2 separate regions of the Homo sapiens genome follow, and region 1 is linked to region 2. Evidence: promoter capture Hi-C in human tissues and cell types (Jung and others, 2019). All regions are on one chromosome and are shown on one strand. The core of a region is centred on a gene start or on the middle of the fragment in contact, and the rest is flanking DNA. Distances in the headings are between cores, read along the strand shown.

What was found. Contacts are between HindIII fragments. The study calls those that stand out against the background at their distance.
Region 1: a fragment that was not itself captured here is called in contact with the fragment with the promoter of CAPN5 in region 2 in 1 of the 25 tissues and cell types used here (bladder).

Annotation. Positions count from the first base shown.
Region 1 is chr11:76,904,528-76,911,760 of GRCh38, forward strand. The region is part of intron 1 of ACER3 (alkaline ceramidase 3); the gene reads left to right. Among named protein-coding and RNA genes, the nearest start is that of ACER3, 47 kb to the left of the region's middle. RefSeq lists an enhancer at 6,618-6,912. The HindIII fragment of the contact is 4,759 bases long and covers 1,551-6,309 here.
Region 2 is chr11:77,062,281-77,069,778 of GRCh38, forward strand. CAPN5 (calpain 5) reads left to right here and starts at 4,691. Exons shown (of 13, transcript NM_004055.5): 1 at 4,691-4,814. It overlaps LOC105369400 (a long non-coding RNA gene), which reads right to left and starts at 1,443. Exons shown (of 3, transcript XR_950341.1): 1 at 907-1,443. RefSeq lists an enhancer at 3,850-4,350 and a silencer at 4,207-4,896. The HindIII fragment of the contact is 16,009 bases long and covers 999-7,498 here.

The DNA of each region.
Region 1 (7,233 bases), core at 2,680-5,179, 160 kb before region 2:
GCCAAGCTGTAACCCAGCCACCCTGGACACATATTCCCAGGACCTCGTGAGGCTGTGTCATGGACGTGGTCACTCATATTTGAGTCAGAATAAACCTCTTCAAATATTAAAATAAAAATAAAAAAATAAAATGAAATGGGTAAAATTGGGACCCGGCTGGAGATGAGGCACAATTAAACTGCACAAGCAGGTGATCTAGACTCCATGGTACCACCTCCTACTGTTTCGCTGCCCCTCTCAACCCACATCTGTGGCCTCATGGAAAAGTTCTTCTTAACCAGTTAATTATTTGCTATATGTCTTTTCTCTATGTATGTGTGTGTGTGTGTGTGTGTGTGTGTTTGAGATGGAGTCTCCCTTTGTTGCCCAGGCTGGAGTGCAGTGGCACAATCTCGGCTCACTACAACCTCCACCTCCTGGTTCAAGTGATTTTCGTACCTCAGCCTGCCGGGTAGCTGGCATTGCAGGTACATGCCACCATGCCCAGCTAATTTTTGTATTTTTAATAGAGATGGGGTTTCACCATGTTGGCCAGGCTGGTCTCGAACTCCTGACCTCAGGTGATCCACTCACCTCGGCCTCCCAAAGTGCCGGGTTTACAAGCATGAGCCACCACACCTGGCCATGTGTGTGTATTTTTTTAGTGAAAATGTGATTGTGCATTATGAAATATTTTGTGGCCTGAATAAAGTATGATTTAGAAGATTTTTTTTATGTTACAAGCTTACCTTTAAATTAAAAAAAATTGAATCTACATTTCTCTATCAAAAGTGAAACAATATCTATTGACTCCCCTCATGTAAAATAATGTATTTAGCATTTGTCGTTCTTTTACTTTTTTCTTACTTTACTTTTTATCATGCCAAGTCAAGGAAAGAGGGCCTGAAATATAGCAGTGATAATGGGGTGAATGGGGTGAATTCTACTGCAGTGAGCATTCATTGCCCTTAGACCTTTTGCCTTCTGTGGTAGCTCAAGACCCCTTTCCATTTCTTTCTTTTTTTCTTTTCCTTCTCCACCAACTAGGAAGACTCTTCTATATGCATATAAAGCATGAAACAAGACATTTGTGTAAACGTACATAAGGAAGTATAAACAAGGTTGCTCACTGCAGTATTGTTTAACAAAAACATAGGAAACAATCTAGAATGTTCATTAATATGGGAATGGATAAACAAAATGTGGTTTATATTTCTATGATAGCATACTATACAGAAATTAAAAGGAATGAAATATAGTATCTAATAGATCTCTCAAGAATAATTTTTATTGATAAAAGCTATTTGCAAAATGATATTTACACTTATTTTGATAAAACAAGAAAACAAAGCAAAACTATGTGGATATACATTTATGTAAAATCATTTAAAAATGAATTATAGTGATACACACCAAATTAACCATTACATCTGGAAATGCATGAAGGGGAATTGGCCAGACAGATGGTTGACTTTTGAAACTGCCTTTGCAAAGATTATGACATTGAGAGAAAGCTAACATGGCTGACTCCATCTTGCTTCTAGCCTCACAGGCTGGCTGCCTTCGCTCATTACTGTGTGTAGGTAAAGCTAACCATGGGAGGAATTTCGTTTATAGTTTTTAACTTTGAAGCAAGGATAATATTCCCTCCCTATAACTGATCCCCTGCTTGTTCAGGGGCTGAAACTGCCTTTGTAAGACTAATGAAAGGCCACAAGATTAGGATTATGGGAGGGGCCTGAATTCTGCTCAAGTATAGATGTAATTTCTGTAATCCCTTACTGCTCAGGAGTCACAGGCCAGAGGACACACATTTGTGACTTCTCTGATTACTCCTAGTATTGGTACTTGAAATTCAGATTTTTGCATTCTGGCATTGAGATTCATAACTCAACTGGTCCTGTCACCCCCTAACCAGAGACAGACTCAGCACAAGAGGATTGTTTTCCACACCCCTATGATTGTATCTCCAACCAATCAGCAGCACCCATTCCCTAGTTCCCTGCCCACCAAATTATCCTTGAAAATCCCTAACCTCCAAGCCTTCAGAGAGGCTAATTTGAGTAATAACTCTGTCTTCCGTGTGGCCAGCCTCACATCAGTTAAAATCTTTCTTTACTGCAGTACCATGGTGTCAGTGAGCTGGTTTTGTCTGTGCAGTGGGCAAGAAGAACCCCTCAGGCAATTACACTTTGACTTTTTTTTGTATTATTTTATTTTATTTTTATTTTAAATATTGAGATGGGATCTCACTATGTTGCTCAGGCTCATCTTGAACTCCTGAGCTCAAGCAGTCCCCCCACCTTGGCCTCCCAAAGTGTTGAGATTATAGGCATGAGCCGCCATGCCTGGACATGACTTTATCTACAATAGATTTTTGTATTCATTCAAATAAAAGCTTGATAGAGACATAACAAAATATAAACAATGATAAATTCTTAGGCATGAGCCTATTTGTTACATTATTCTTTATTCTGAATTTTACAGTTTCTTCAATTGAAAAAAAAGCGTCACGTTGTATAGCATCTGGTGCAAAATAGATACTTAATTCACTTCTCTCACTGTTTTTTTTCACCCTTTTTTACAGGATTGGATCATCAACTTACATTAGACAGCCAGTTTAATACCCCAATTATTTAAAGCTTCTCCTATCACTTTAAAGTGAATCCCTCCAATGAGGTACAAATTCAGGAAACAAGCATTCTTTATGATAGGCCCAGGAACTAGTTCTTATGAGTGTGATCAGTGGCCCCATCACAGCACCTTTTGTGTTATCTGGTTATAGCTTCTGCACTTGAAAGTCTTCTGTAGATCACAGCTCACTAGACACTATTTCAAGCAAATTTATTGTGAAACTAGTGTTATTTAGCTGATTTGTTCTTAGTGGACATGCTGTGTTTATATCTCTATTTTTGTGGTTCTCTTTCATATTGTTTCCAATAAGGATGACTGTTAAACTCATGGGCACATTAAGTAATATGTATGTATGTGATTTTCTTGAGTGCTTTTATTGTTTTCACCTTGATTTCTGACTGTTCAGATTTACAAGATTATTTTTGAATTGGATAAAATAAGCCAATAAAGCCGGGCACAGTGGCTCACACCTGTAATCCCAGTGCTTTGGGAGGCCAATGTAGGTGGATCACTTGAGGCAGGAGTTCAAGACTAGCCTGGCCAACACAGTGAAAGCCAGTCTCCACCAAAAAATACAAAAATTAGCCGGGCATGGTGATGCATGCCTATAGTCCCAGCTTCTTGGTAGGCTGAGGCAGGAGAGTCACTTGAACCCAGGAGGGAGAGCTTGCAGTGAGCTGAGATCATACCACTGCACTCCAGCCTGGGCGACACAGTGAGATCCTGTCTCAAAAAATAAAAATAAAAATAAGCCAATAAGTTCTAGTTTTATAAAGCTATTGTTGCTTGTCATTATATACAAATTATAATTTTTGCCGGGCACAGTGGCTGACGCCTGTAATCCCAGCACCCTGGGAGGCCAAGGCAAGTGGATCACCTGAAGTCAGGGGTTCGAGACCAGCCTGGCCAACATGGTGAAACCCTGTCTCTACTAAAAATAAAAAAATTAACTGGGCATGGTGGCACATGCCTGTAATCCCAGCTACTTGGGAGGCTGAGGTAGGAGAATCACTTGAACCTGGGAGGTGGAGGTTGCAGTGAGCTGAGATCGTGCCACTGCACTCTAGCCTGGGCGACAGAGCAAGACTCCATCTTGATTGTATGATTGTATATTTAGAAAATATGATTGTATATTTAGAAATAGTATGATTTTATATTTAGAAAACATATGATTGTATTATAATAATAATATGATTGTATATTAGAAAACCCCATCGTCTCAGCCCAAAAACTCCTTAAGCTGATAAGCAACTTCAGCAAAGTCTCAGGATACAAAATGTGCAGAAATCACAAGCATCCCTATACACCAATAGTAGACAAACAGAGAGCCAAATCATGAGGGAACTCCCATTCACAATTTCTACAAAGAGAATGAAATACCTAGGAATATAACTTACAAGGGATGTGAAGTACCTCTTCAAGGAGAACTACAAACCACTGCTCAAGGAAATAAGAGAGGACACAAACAAATGGAAAAACATTCCATGCTCACAGATAGAAAGAATCAATATTGTGAAAATGGCCATACTGCCCAAAGTAGTTTATAGATTCAATGCTATTCCCATCAAGCTTTTATTTGAATAAATATAAAAAACTATTGACTTTCTTCACAGAATTAGAAAAAAACAACTTTAAATTTCATATGGAACCAAAAAAGAGCCCATATAGCCAAGACAATCCTAAGCAAAAAGAACAAAGCTGGAGGCATCATTCTACCTGACTTCAAACTATACTACAAGGCTACAGTAACCAAAACAGCATGGTACTGGTACCAAAACAGATATATAGACCAATGGAACAGAACAGAGGCCTCAGAAATAACACCACACATCTACAACCATCTGATCTTTGACAAACCTGACAAAAACAAGAAATGGGGGAAAGGATTCCCCATTTAATAAATGGTGTTAGGAAAACTGGCTAGCCATATGCAGAAAACTGAAACTGGACCCCTTCCTTACACCTTGTACAAAAATTAACTCAAGCTGGATTAAACAGTTAAATGTAAAACCTAAAACCACAAAAACCCTAGAAGAAAACCTAGGCAATACCATTCAGAACATAGGTATGGGCAAAGACTTCATGACTAAAACACCAAAAGCAATGGCAACAAAAGCCAAAATTGACAAATGGGATCTAATTAAACTAAAGAACTTCTGCACAGCAAAAGAAACTATCATCAGAGTGAACAGGCAATCTTAAAAATGGGAGAAAATTTTTGCAATCTATCCATCTGACAAAGGGCTAATATCCAGAATCTACAAGGAACTTAAACAAATTTACAAGAAAAAAAACAACCCCATCAAAAAGCGGGCAAAGGATGTGAGCAGACACTTTTCAAAAGAAGACATTTATATGGCCAACAAACATATGAAAAAAAGCTAATCATCACCGGTCATTAGAGAAATGCAAATCAAAACCACAATGAGATACCATCTCACGCCAGTTAGAATGGCAATCATTAAAAAGTCAGGAAACAATAGATGCTGGAGAGGATGTGGAAAAATAGGAACGCTTTTACACTGTTGGTGGGAGTGTAAATTAGTTCAACCATTGTGGAAGACAGTGTGGCGATTCCTCAAGGATCTAGAACCAGAAATACCATTTGACCCAGCAATCCCATTACTGGGTATGTACCCAAAGGATTATAAATCATTCTACTATAAAGACACATGCACACGTATGTTTATTGCAGCACTATTCACAATAGCAAAGACTTGGAACCAACCCAGATGCCCATCAATGATAGACTGGATAAAGAAAATGTGACATATATACACCATGGAATACTATGCAGCCATAAAAAAGAATTAGTTCATATCTGTTGCCAGGACATGGATGAAGCTGGAAAGAATCATTCTCAGCAAACTAGCACAGGAACAGAAAATCAAACACCACATGTTCTCACTCATAAGTGAGAGTTGAACAATGAGAACATATGGGCACAGGGAGGGGAACATCACCACACACTGGGGCCTGTTGGGGGGTGGGGGGCAAGGGGAGGGATAGCATTAGGAGAAATACCTAATGTAGATGACCGGTTGATAGGTGCAGCAAACCACCATGGCACATGTATAACTATGTAACAAACCTGCACGTTCTGCACATGTGTCCCAGTACATAAAGTATAATAATAATAATAAAAAATTATGATTTTCACAGATAAGTTACTTAAGAGTAACTATTTCTTACTGCTTTCTGAAAAAAGACTACATATAATTCCATTGAATCTATTATTTTTTCTAACAAATTATTATAGACTGTATGTTTTTCTAAGATATTTCACCCTATCAGAATAAAGGTGTTTTATCTCATTGTAGAATAAACTCTTTAAAAGAGAACTAACATTTATTCCTTGCTTACTCAATTCACTTTTGCAATATTTCATCATCATAATAGGTATTATGCCTAATCTACAGAGGAGAAAATTAAGGCGCAAGGTGGTTAAGTAACTTGGATAAACATTTCGCCAAAGAAAATATACCATTAATAAACAGAAAATAATAAACATATAAATAGTTTAGTAACCCAGAGAAATGTAAATTAAAAAGTAATAATATATAGTTTTCTACCTCTTAAAGTAAGACATTATATTGTTCAATGTTACTGAAGTTAATATGTGAACCAGTCACCGTTATGTACTGCTAATAGGATTATAATTGGTCCAACCATTCTGGAAAGTAGTTTGGTTGTACTGTGTAATGCACCCACAAATATAATGATTAAGTGATTATTATATGATAGAACATTATGCTGCCATCGAAATTGTATTTTCAAAGATTATTAAGTTACATGGATGAATACTTACGTGATTATAGGAAAATCAGAAACAATGACCATTTTTCTGATTAAAATTGTTTATAGTTATTAAGATTACTCTCTACAGTCTCTGCTACTGTTACCCAATCCAGACCCCAAGAGAGGGTTCTTGGATCTTGCGCAAGAAAGAATTCCAGGCAAGTCCATGTAAATCGAAAGCAAGTTTATTAAGAAAGTAAAGGAATAAAAGAATGGCTTCTCCAAGGGCAGAGCAACCCTGAGGGCTGCTGGTTGGCTATTTTTATGGTTATTTATTAATTATATGCTAAACAAGGAGTGAGTTATTTATGAGTTTTCCAGGAAAGGGGCGGGCAATTCCTGGAACTGAGGGTTCCTCCCTCTTCTGGACTATATAAGGTAACTTCCAGACGTTGCCATGACATTTGCAAACTGTCGTGGCACTGGTGGGAGTGTCTTTTCGCATGCTAATGCATTATAATTAGCATATGATTAGCAGTGCCAGGGCCAGAGGTCACTTTTTTTGCCATCTTGGTTTTGATGGATTTTGGCTGGCTTCTTTATCAGCCAAAATCCCATCCTGCTGACCTCCTGTCTTGTTCCGTGATTATGAATGCCTAATCTCCTGAGAATGCAGCTCAGCAGATTTCAGCCTCATTTTATCCAGCCAGTATTCAAGATGGAGTTGCCCTGGTTCAAATGCCTCTGACACTACCATGGTGTTTAATGTCTGCTACTATCTGCCTCATCTGCCTTTTTCTTCTTCCTCTATAGAACAGCTTTCTCTCATTCCTTATATACTTGGCCTAAATATGGAAGCCTCAGCTTTAGCTTTACACTACC
Region 2 (7,498 bases), core at 3,441-5,940:
CTCATAGCAGTCTCCCAAAGTGTTGGGATTGCAGGCATGAACCACTGTGCCTGGCCCTTGTGATGTTCTTGATCTTAGTGGAAATGCTTCCAGTGTCTCTTGATTAAATAAGATGCTGGTTTATAGGACTATATCTTATCATATTGAGAAAGTATCCCTCAATTCCTATTTCACTGAGTGTTCTGATCATGAATGGGTATTGATCAAATACCCATTTCTTAGCATTTATAGGGAAATAAATGAGCATATTATTCTATCCTTAGGTTCATTCATATGGTACATGCTTGTTGTACATTGAATTGGATCCCATAGAAGGAATTGACCCTGATGATACCTTTATCAGAATTAGGGATACCTTTATCTTGAACTTCTAGCCTCCAGGACTGAGACAATACATTTCTGTGGTTTAAGCCGCCCAGCTTGTCATTATGGCAGCCCTAGGAAACTAAAGCAATGTTATTAATGGATGGATTTTTCTAATATTAAAGCTACTCTGGAGGTTGAGGCAGGAGAATCGCTTGAACCCGGGAGGTGAAGGTTGCATGCAGTGAGCTGAGATCACGCCACTGCACTCCAGCCTTGGTGACAAGAGCAAAACTCTGTCTCAAAAAAAAAAATCAACCTTGCATTCTTGGAATAAATCCCCTTGGTCTGACTGGTTTTTAATAATATCCAGGATAGTAACAAAATATAAGCAGTGTTTCAGAGAAGGATGCACTTGAAAACAACTCAGAGGTCATCTTGTCTCAATATCCCAATTTCCATCATACCTGTTCTGCCCTGGAGTCCCTTGTGAGCTCCCATTTTTGACCACACAGGGGAGCACCATTAGCAACTATTCCCCATTGAAAGTTCTGTGTCTGATGGGCCTTCTCACCCTGCAATCTTGACCTGCCCCCCACTCACCTGAGCTGGCCAGATGAGAATGGAATGAACTGGTTAACAGGGTGATTTTTAATATTCCTCCTAGAGACACCAAGCCTTAGGAGCCTCCACTTTGAGCCACTCCCCATGCCATGGCTTCCTTTAGGGTTCCCACACAATAGCTAGACAATTAGGTCTGTTGGGGTTAAAAAAAACATGATTATCATAAGTTTCACCTGGGAAATCCTATTACACACAGGAGCAGTGAAGATAGGGGTTTTCTAACCTGGGCAGAGAAGATTCTGTCTCTAGGCTCTGGTAAGATAGAGGGTATAGAGTCTGGCAGAACCAGGAAGAGAGGGGTGGATCAGCTCTGGGTGACAAAAGCTCTCCCAGGTAGAGGAGAAAGGGTTGTGCTATGAGGAAATGAGTTCCCAGTTACAGTGGCATGCAAGCAGAGGTGGGACAGCCAGTCAAGGAGCCTGCAGAGGTGACCTTTTCCTGGAGGAGATAGGAAGAGGGGAGGGAAAGGCCACAAGAGTGGAGTCAGACAGGGTAGGTTTGGATTCCAGTTACTAATTGTGTGACCTGGGGCATCTCCCTGAGGCTTGGTTCTGTCATCTGGAAAATGGACTAATCAGAGCTGCTGCAGAGGGCGGTTGTGAGAAATGGGAAGTGCACCTCCACATCAGGCCCTGCGATGGTACCATTAGATGACTCAGTTTACAAAAACTGACCAGCAGGATCCCGGGCCAGAGCATCATCAAAGTCCCACCTTTTCCCCAACCTTGTTGGGCAGATCTGGCTCTTCCTGGCCTATCTTGGGGACCTCTCTCTCCCCCAAGAGCAGGGCCAATGCTCTCTCCACCCGGCCACCAGGGTGGGTGTCCTGGGCAGGTCACTCTCGCTAGGCCTCTTTCCTCACCTGTCGGAGAAGGTGGAGCTGCTGGAGATGATTAAAGGACTGGGCCCTTCCAGTGCTAACCTGCTAGGGTGGCTGGGCTTCTCACTGGCCATGAGTGCATGTCTCTGCTTCTGGGACTCAATGTCTTCACAAAATGAGGGGCTGGGCCAGATGACAATAACACCAGCTAGCACATGCTGAGCTCTTACTCCAAGCAAAGGGCAACCATGAGGGCTCCGTATGTCCCGGCCCATTTAATCCCACAACAACTCCATGGTGCGACTGTTGCTATGCTGGCTTTATAGGAGAGGATACTGGCACAGTGAGGTTGGGTCACTTGTCTGAGGTCACTCAGCTAATATGAGCCCAGGCAGAGCCCATGCTTGCAACTACTGCACAATACCCTCTTGTGGCTCCAATGCTTTGAGATACAGAAGGGGGTCTGAGCATCCTCTGAACCCCACTGTTTTGTGGGCTGAGGCAAACATGCCTTCTCAGACACAACCCCAGCCCCACCTTGGAACACATGGGAGTTGCCCAGCCCAGAGACAATGCTGCCCAGTATCCTACACAACCGGGCCTTTATCGATCCCCGTGACTTGCCTGTACCTGGTCATCACACACTCCAGCTAGAAGCCCATTTTACAGACAGGGAAAAGGATAGAGGACCTGCCCAGATCACACAGCCAGTAACTGGCAGAGTGAGGACTGGAGCCCAGATCTACTTGGCTCTACCAAGTGCTGCTGTCTTCCTGACAATGACCCTTGGCCTCTGCCCTCCAGGAACTTTGGCCTTGCAGGGGAAACCTTGGCCCCACCAGCAACTCTGAGAGACGCAGCCTGAGAAGGGCCATAGGTGAGGGGTGGATGCTGAGCAAGGGAGCTTTGGGATGCTGCAGCACAGGGAGGAAGGAAGAGTCCTTCAGACGGCCACAGATCAGCACGGGCATGGTTTCAGGTGGGGAGAGTAGAGCCCCTGAAGTGACTTTTGAAGGGCTGGTGAAGCTGCTGCTCCCAGTACAGGGCATGGAATAAGGTTAGGGGAGATGGGGGAGTCAGATGGGGTGCAGTCTTAGAACACTCTTCTATGGGTGGCGGGTCTCAGCTGCATATGTGAAAGTCTTCTTTGGTTGGATAGGAGGCTCCTGAGGGGGCTGGGGCTACTCTTAAGGGAGAAGCATCTGGGTGGCCTGGGACAGAGGCAGGGAGGTTGGGGAGAAGCTAGAGAAGTCCAGGTGACTGAGAGTGAGGTGAGGCAGAGACTCCTCTTAGTGGAAATAAAGGAAAATCATGAGTCTTTTCAGGGGGAATTTCAGGCAGCTAGCTAGCTTTGAGAAGTAAATGAGCACCTTGACAAGCAAGAAGGTAATTGAAGCTTCAAACAAGGGCCACCCAAATAAGTTAGAGCCACAAGATGTCTGGTTCCCTATAGAAACTAAAGATAACATCTTGACCTATGTCCCTGAATTGTTTTTCACAGCTGTCACTTAGGCCTCAGATAAGGGGAAACTGAGGGCTGTTCTTTAAATTTCTTCCCAAGGGTTCTGTAAAGAGTCACACCCATAAGCCAATGCTTAACTCTCCTATCTGTGGACCCCAGGTTTTTAGACAGTCTTGCTTCCTAAGCCAATTGCAAATCACAGAATCTCTGAATCCACCTATGACCCTGCCTCAAAATGTCTCACCTTTTTGGGCCAAGCCAATGTATAGCTCCAGAGTATTTATTTATGACTTTGCCTATAACCTCTGTCTCCCCACCTTTAAAAAGCCTTACATGTAAACCATTGGGGAGTACGGGTCTTAAGCATTAGCCGACCTATTCTCCTTGCTTGGCACCCTGCAATAAATGCCTCCCTTTCTGCCGCTGCAAATCCTGGTGTCAGTGTTTGGCTTTGCTGCACTGGGTGGGCGGACCCAAGTTTGTTTCGGTAACACAAGAGGTTGACGAAATCATTAACTGAGACTTCGAAACAAATTGGAGGCGGAGAATGAACGGGCCTGAGACGCTCCACCAGCGAGTGGGCCGATGGGCTCATCAGATCAGATGGGCGTCTGTCCTGCTGCCTCAGGGCGGGGGGTGGTGGCACCCCTGAGCTCCTACTGTAGGCAAGAACTAGTCACTCCTAAACCTTCTCTATCGGATTCCCCAAGCGGCCTGGGGTGGGTAGAGATTATAGTCCCCGTTTTACAGATCAGGAAATGCAGGCTCCGTGCCATCCCAGGGCATTCCGGTAGCCAGTCACGGACAGAGAGTCAAACATGAGCCCGAGCCCGGGAGCCCATGGCAGCACGGGATTAAGTCCTCAACACGGGCCGGGGTCAGTTTTCCCATCTGACAGAGGCCCTCTGCTGCTCACAGGGGCCTGGGCTCCCACTTCTCCATCCGAACACTTGGGATGGATGTGAAGGTGGAGCCCGGAAAGGGAGGGGCGCCGCCCACCAAGTCCTGGTTCTGGCAGGCACCCTGGCCCTTGCGGGTCCTCGGTACTACACGCCGGCCCCAAGTCAGCCGCGGCCCCGGCCCGCCCTGTGGGGGCTGAACCCCAGCCCCGGCCCGATCCCTCACGGTGCAGCCAGCCCTTGGGAGGCTGCCCATGGGGATGCGCACCAACCGCAGACAGATAGGCTGGGAAGGAGAGAGAACGAGGGCCCGACCGAGCCGGTAGAGGCGGTGGGTGCCGCTAGGGGCCCCAAGTCCGCGTTCAACACAGGGGCTGGAATGAGACCGCTCCTCTGAGCGGCCGCCCACCGCACCAGTGCGCATGGGCGCACCCGGCCACCGGGCCGCCCACCCCGCCCCACGGGAGACCACGCCTCCGGCTCGCAACGGGCAAATGGGCGGAGGCCGCGGGCGGGGCGGGGCGGAGCCGGGCCCAGCTGGCCGAACCCGGGGAATGCGAGCGCCAGCCCCCGCCGCAGGCCAGTCCCAGCTGGATCTCCGGCCAGAGCCCGAGGCTGCTGCGCCGGGCGGCTGCAGCCTCCGCTCCAGCGCCCGCGCCGTGCCCTGCATCCCGGGAGCCCGGCTGGACCCGCGGCGGCTCGGCCGGTAGGAGGCGGGCGGAGGGAGGCGTGTGCTTCTGTGTGTGTGTGTGTGTGTGTTTCGGGGGGGTGTGTGCGGGTGCAGCGCGGGCCAGTGATTGCTCCGGGACCACGAATCAGTGGAGGGGGCTGCACCTCCCGCGGGCCCGGGGGGAAAGGAAGTGAGCGCTGGCTGGGGGGCGGGGTCCTGGAGCATCCGCCTGGGCCCCCTCGGCTCGTCCCCACCCCCACCCCCGGCGAGGAGTCTTTTTTTCACCTCCCTCTGGGTGTCTCCGAGTCGTTTTCCTAGTGCGGACGCGCTGGAAGCGCCTAACACCCGGGGCTAGACTGTCACTTCCTCTCATCTTCCTTACAGTTCCCCCCTTCTCTTCCCTGCTTAACCCCCCTTTCATCCCTGCAATCCACCAACCCCTTCTGGGTGCTCCACCACCCAGGCCTGGGGAAGGGGCAGGGCCGAGGCTCCTACTGCCCCAGCCTATCCGCTTCTTGGCACTACTCCCCAGGTTGAAAGGGGGCTTTTCTCCTTGACTGCAGGGCGGGCGCACGTGTGTGTGTGTGTGTGTGTGTGTGTGTGTGTGTGTGTTGCGGGAGTGTGGGGGAGTGGTCTGGGAGGGAATGGATCTTTGTTTCTCAGACCTCAGAGTTCCCACCTCTGTTCCTTTGCGTTGGGGGTCTCGGAAGACTGGCCTAGGGGACCAGAGGCGAAATAGGACAAAAGATCATTAACAGGTGCGACGTTCTCTCTCCCAGTCATTTCATGTGGTGGGATTCACCCCCAAGTTCCATACAGATCAGAAGAGTGGGGCACAGAGAAGCGAAGTCAGCTGCCCTCTCAGGATTGCTGAGCCAGAATTTGAACCCGGGTCCGCCTGGCTCTCATCCCAGAATCTTCTCCCTACACCTGTGGTTTAGAGAGAAAAGTACTGAGGGCGACTATCCCAGGACTCAGGGGAAAGAGAGATCTGGGCAGACTTCTTGGAAGAGAGGGGCTTACGGGTGAGGCTCAGCCAACTCAATGAGTCTGAGGCCTGCTGGGGGAACCACTGTGTTTTGCAAGGATTGACACCTCCCAGGGTCCTCGGGCTGGTCCTTGCTCCTGTCCCCAGGGTCTGGGGGTGGGGTGGTGTGGCTGCCTTTGCCTCCTGGGCAGGGTATGGTGGGCCCAGCTGCTGCTGCAGGCCAGGTCAGGCTAGTTGCCAGCACACAGAGGTGCTCAGGCGGGGTCTTTGCCCTGAGGAGCCTCTCTTCTGACAAGACAGGCAGTGGGTCCACAGATAAGGCCCTGTCCAGAGTTGTACCCAGTGCTGGGAGCACAAGACAGGGACTGATGGGTGCCCGGGAGCTGGGGATGAGTTCACTTGCAGATTCGTTGGGGCTGGGTCTTGAAATCCACCAAGCAGAAAAGAAAAGGCAGGTCATTGCAGCCCCAAGGAACAGCATGAGTAAAGGCCTGGCAGTGTGAAAATGAATGCTGGTGGGGTGGATTGCGGATTAGATAGGTCAGATGTGTGTCCAAGAAGGGCCACCTTTGGCTGCAGTAGTGGGTGGGCTTCCACTGAGGGCTATAAGGAGGAGGCCAAAGCAGGGAGAGGGCCCTCCCTTCTGCTCTCCTCTGCTCCCCACCCAGGGCTAGGCTTGGCAGGGGAGGAGGGACCCTGATAAAGTTTCCCAGAGCAGGGGTGCTGGGGGCAGGAGGTGCCCAGGGGCTAAGGGGCTACACAGGGTCCCAGTGCTGGGGGAAGGTAGGTGGGGCTGCCTCTGTGAGATGGGGACCACCATTGGGGGTGGAGCAGGTTGGGAGTAAGTTGACTGTTGGACAGGGTGGTTGTGAGATGCCTGTGGGTTTTTGTGGGTGACATCTGGGACACTGCTCCCAGGCCAGCACTGTCTCTGTCTGCTTCTGCGCCTGCTTTCCTGGCAGGCTGTCAGATCAGCCCTGGAGTCCTGGTCCCCAAACAGGAGGCCTCCTGCGCCCTCAGTGGGCACCCTCTCCTACCTGCAGGGCCTAAATCATGTGTCTGTTCTTTCTCTTGGCTGAGACCATCTCTGTACCTTCCTACTTGCCTATGACCTTGAGGCGGAGAACTTCCCTTTTCTGTCTCAGTTTTCTCATGTGCGGAATGGGGATAAATGCTGCCTATTCACAGGGACTCGGGGGATGATGAAGATGAACTTAGATCATGTCACTGAACGCATCTTTCTAAGTACATGGTGTCTGGTAGCCATTGTTACTAATAGCAGCTGGCAATCAGCATCACTTAGTTCCCTCCCTGGGGATGAGGGGCTGACTTTGGGAGAAGAAGGGTGGAAGGAAACAGTCCTCTCCTATTGAAACGGAAGCCTCTCTTGGCTTTAGTGGGTGAAGGGGACTTACGGGAGTGATCTGTATCTGCCTGACCAAGTCCCCTGGCTTCCCCCAAAAGCTTCTAGCCCTTGAGGAGAGGCAAGGGCTGAGCAGCCGGGAGCACCCTAGAGTACAGCATGTAAAGGTTGAACAGAAAGCCCAGCAGTGGGCCCTGGGCTCCCCCAGCTGCAAAGAGCAGGGTCTGCAACACCCCCCACCCCTCCCCAGCAGCCTCCTGGGCAGCTGGCAGCAGTCTCTCTGCAGCTGGGCTTTTCACCCGTTCTGTCTCTGTCCCCATCTATTCAAGTGTTTTGAGTGCCTTCAGAGCCCCTCCCAGGCACCTCTCA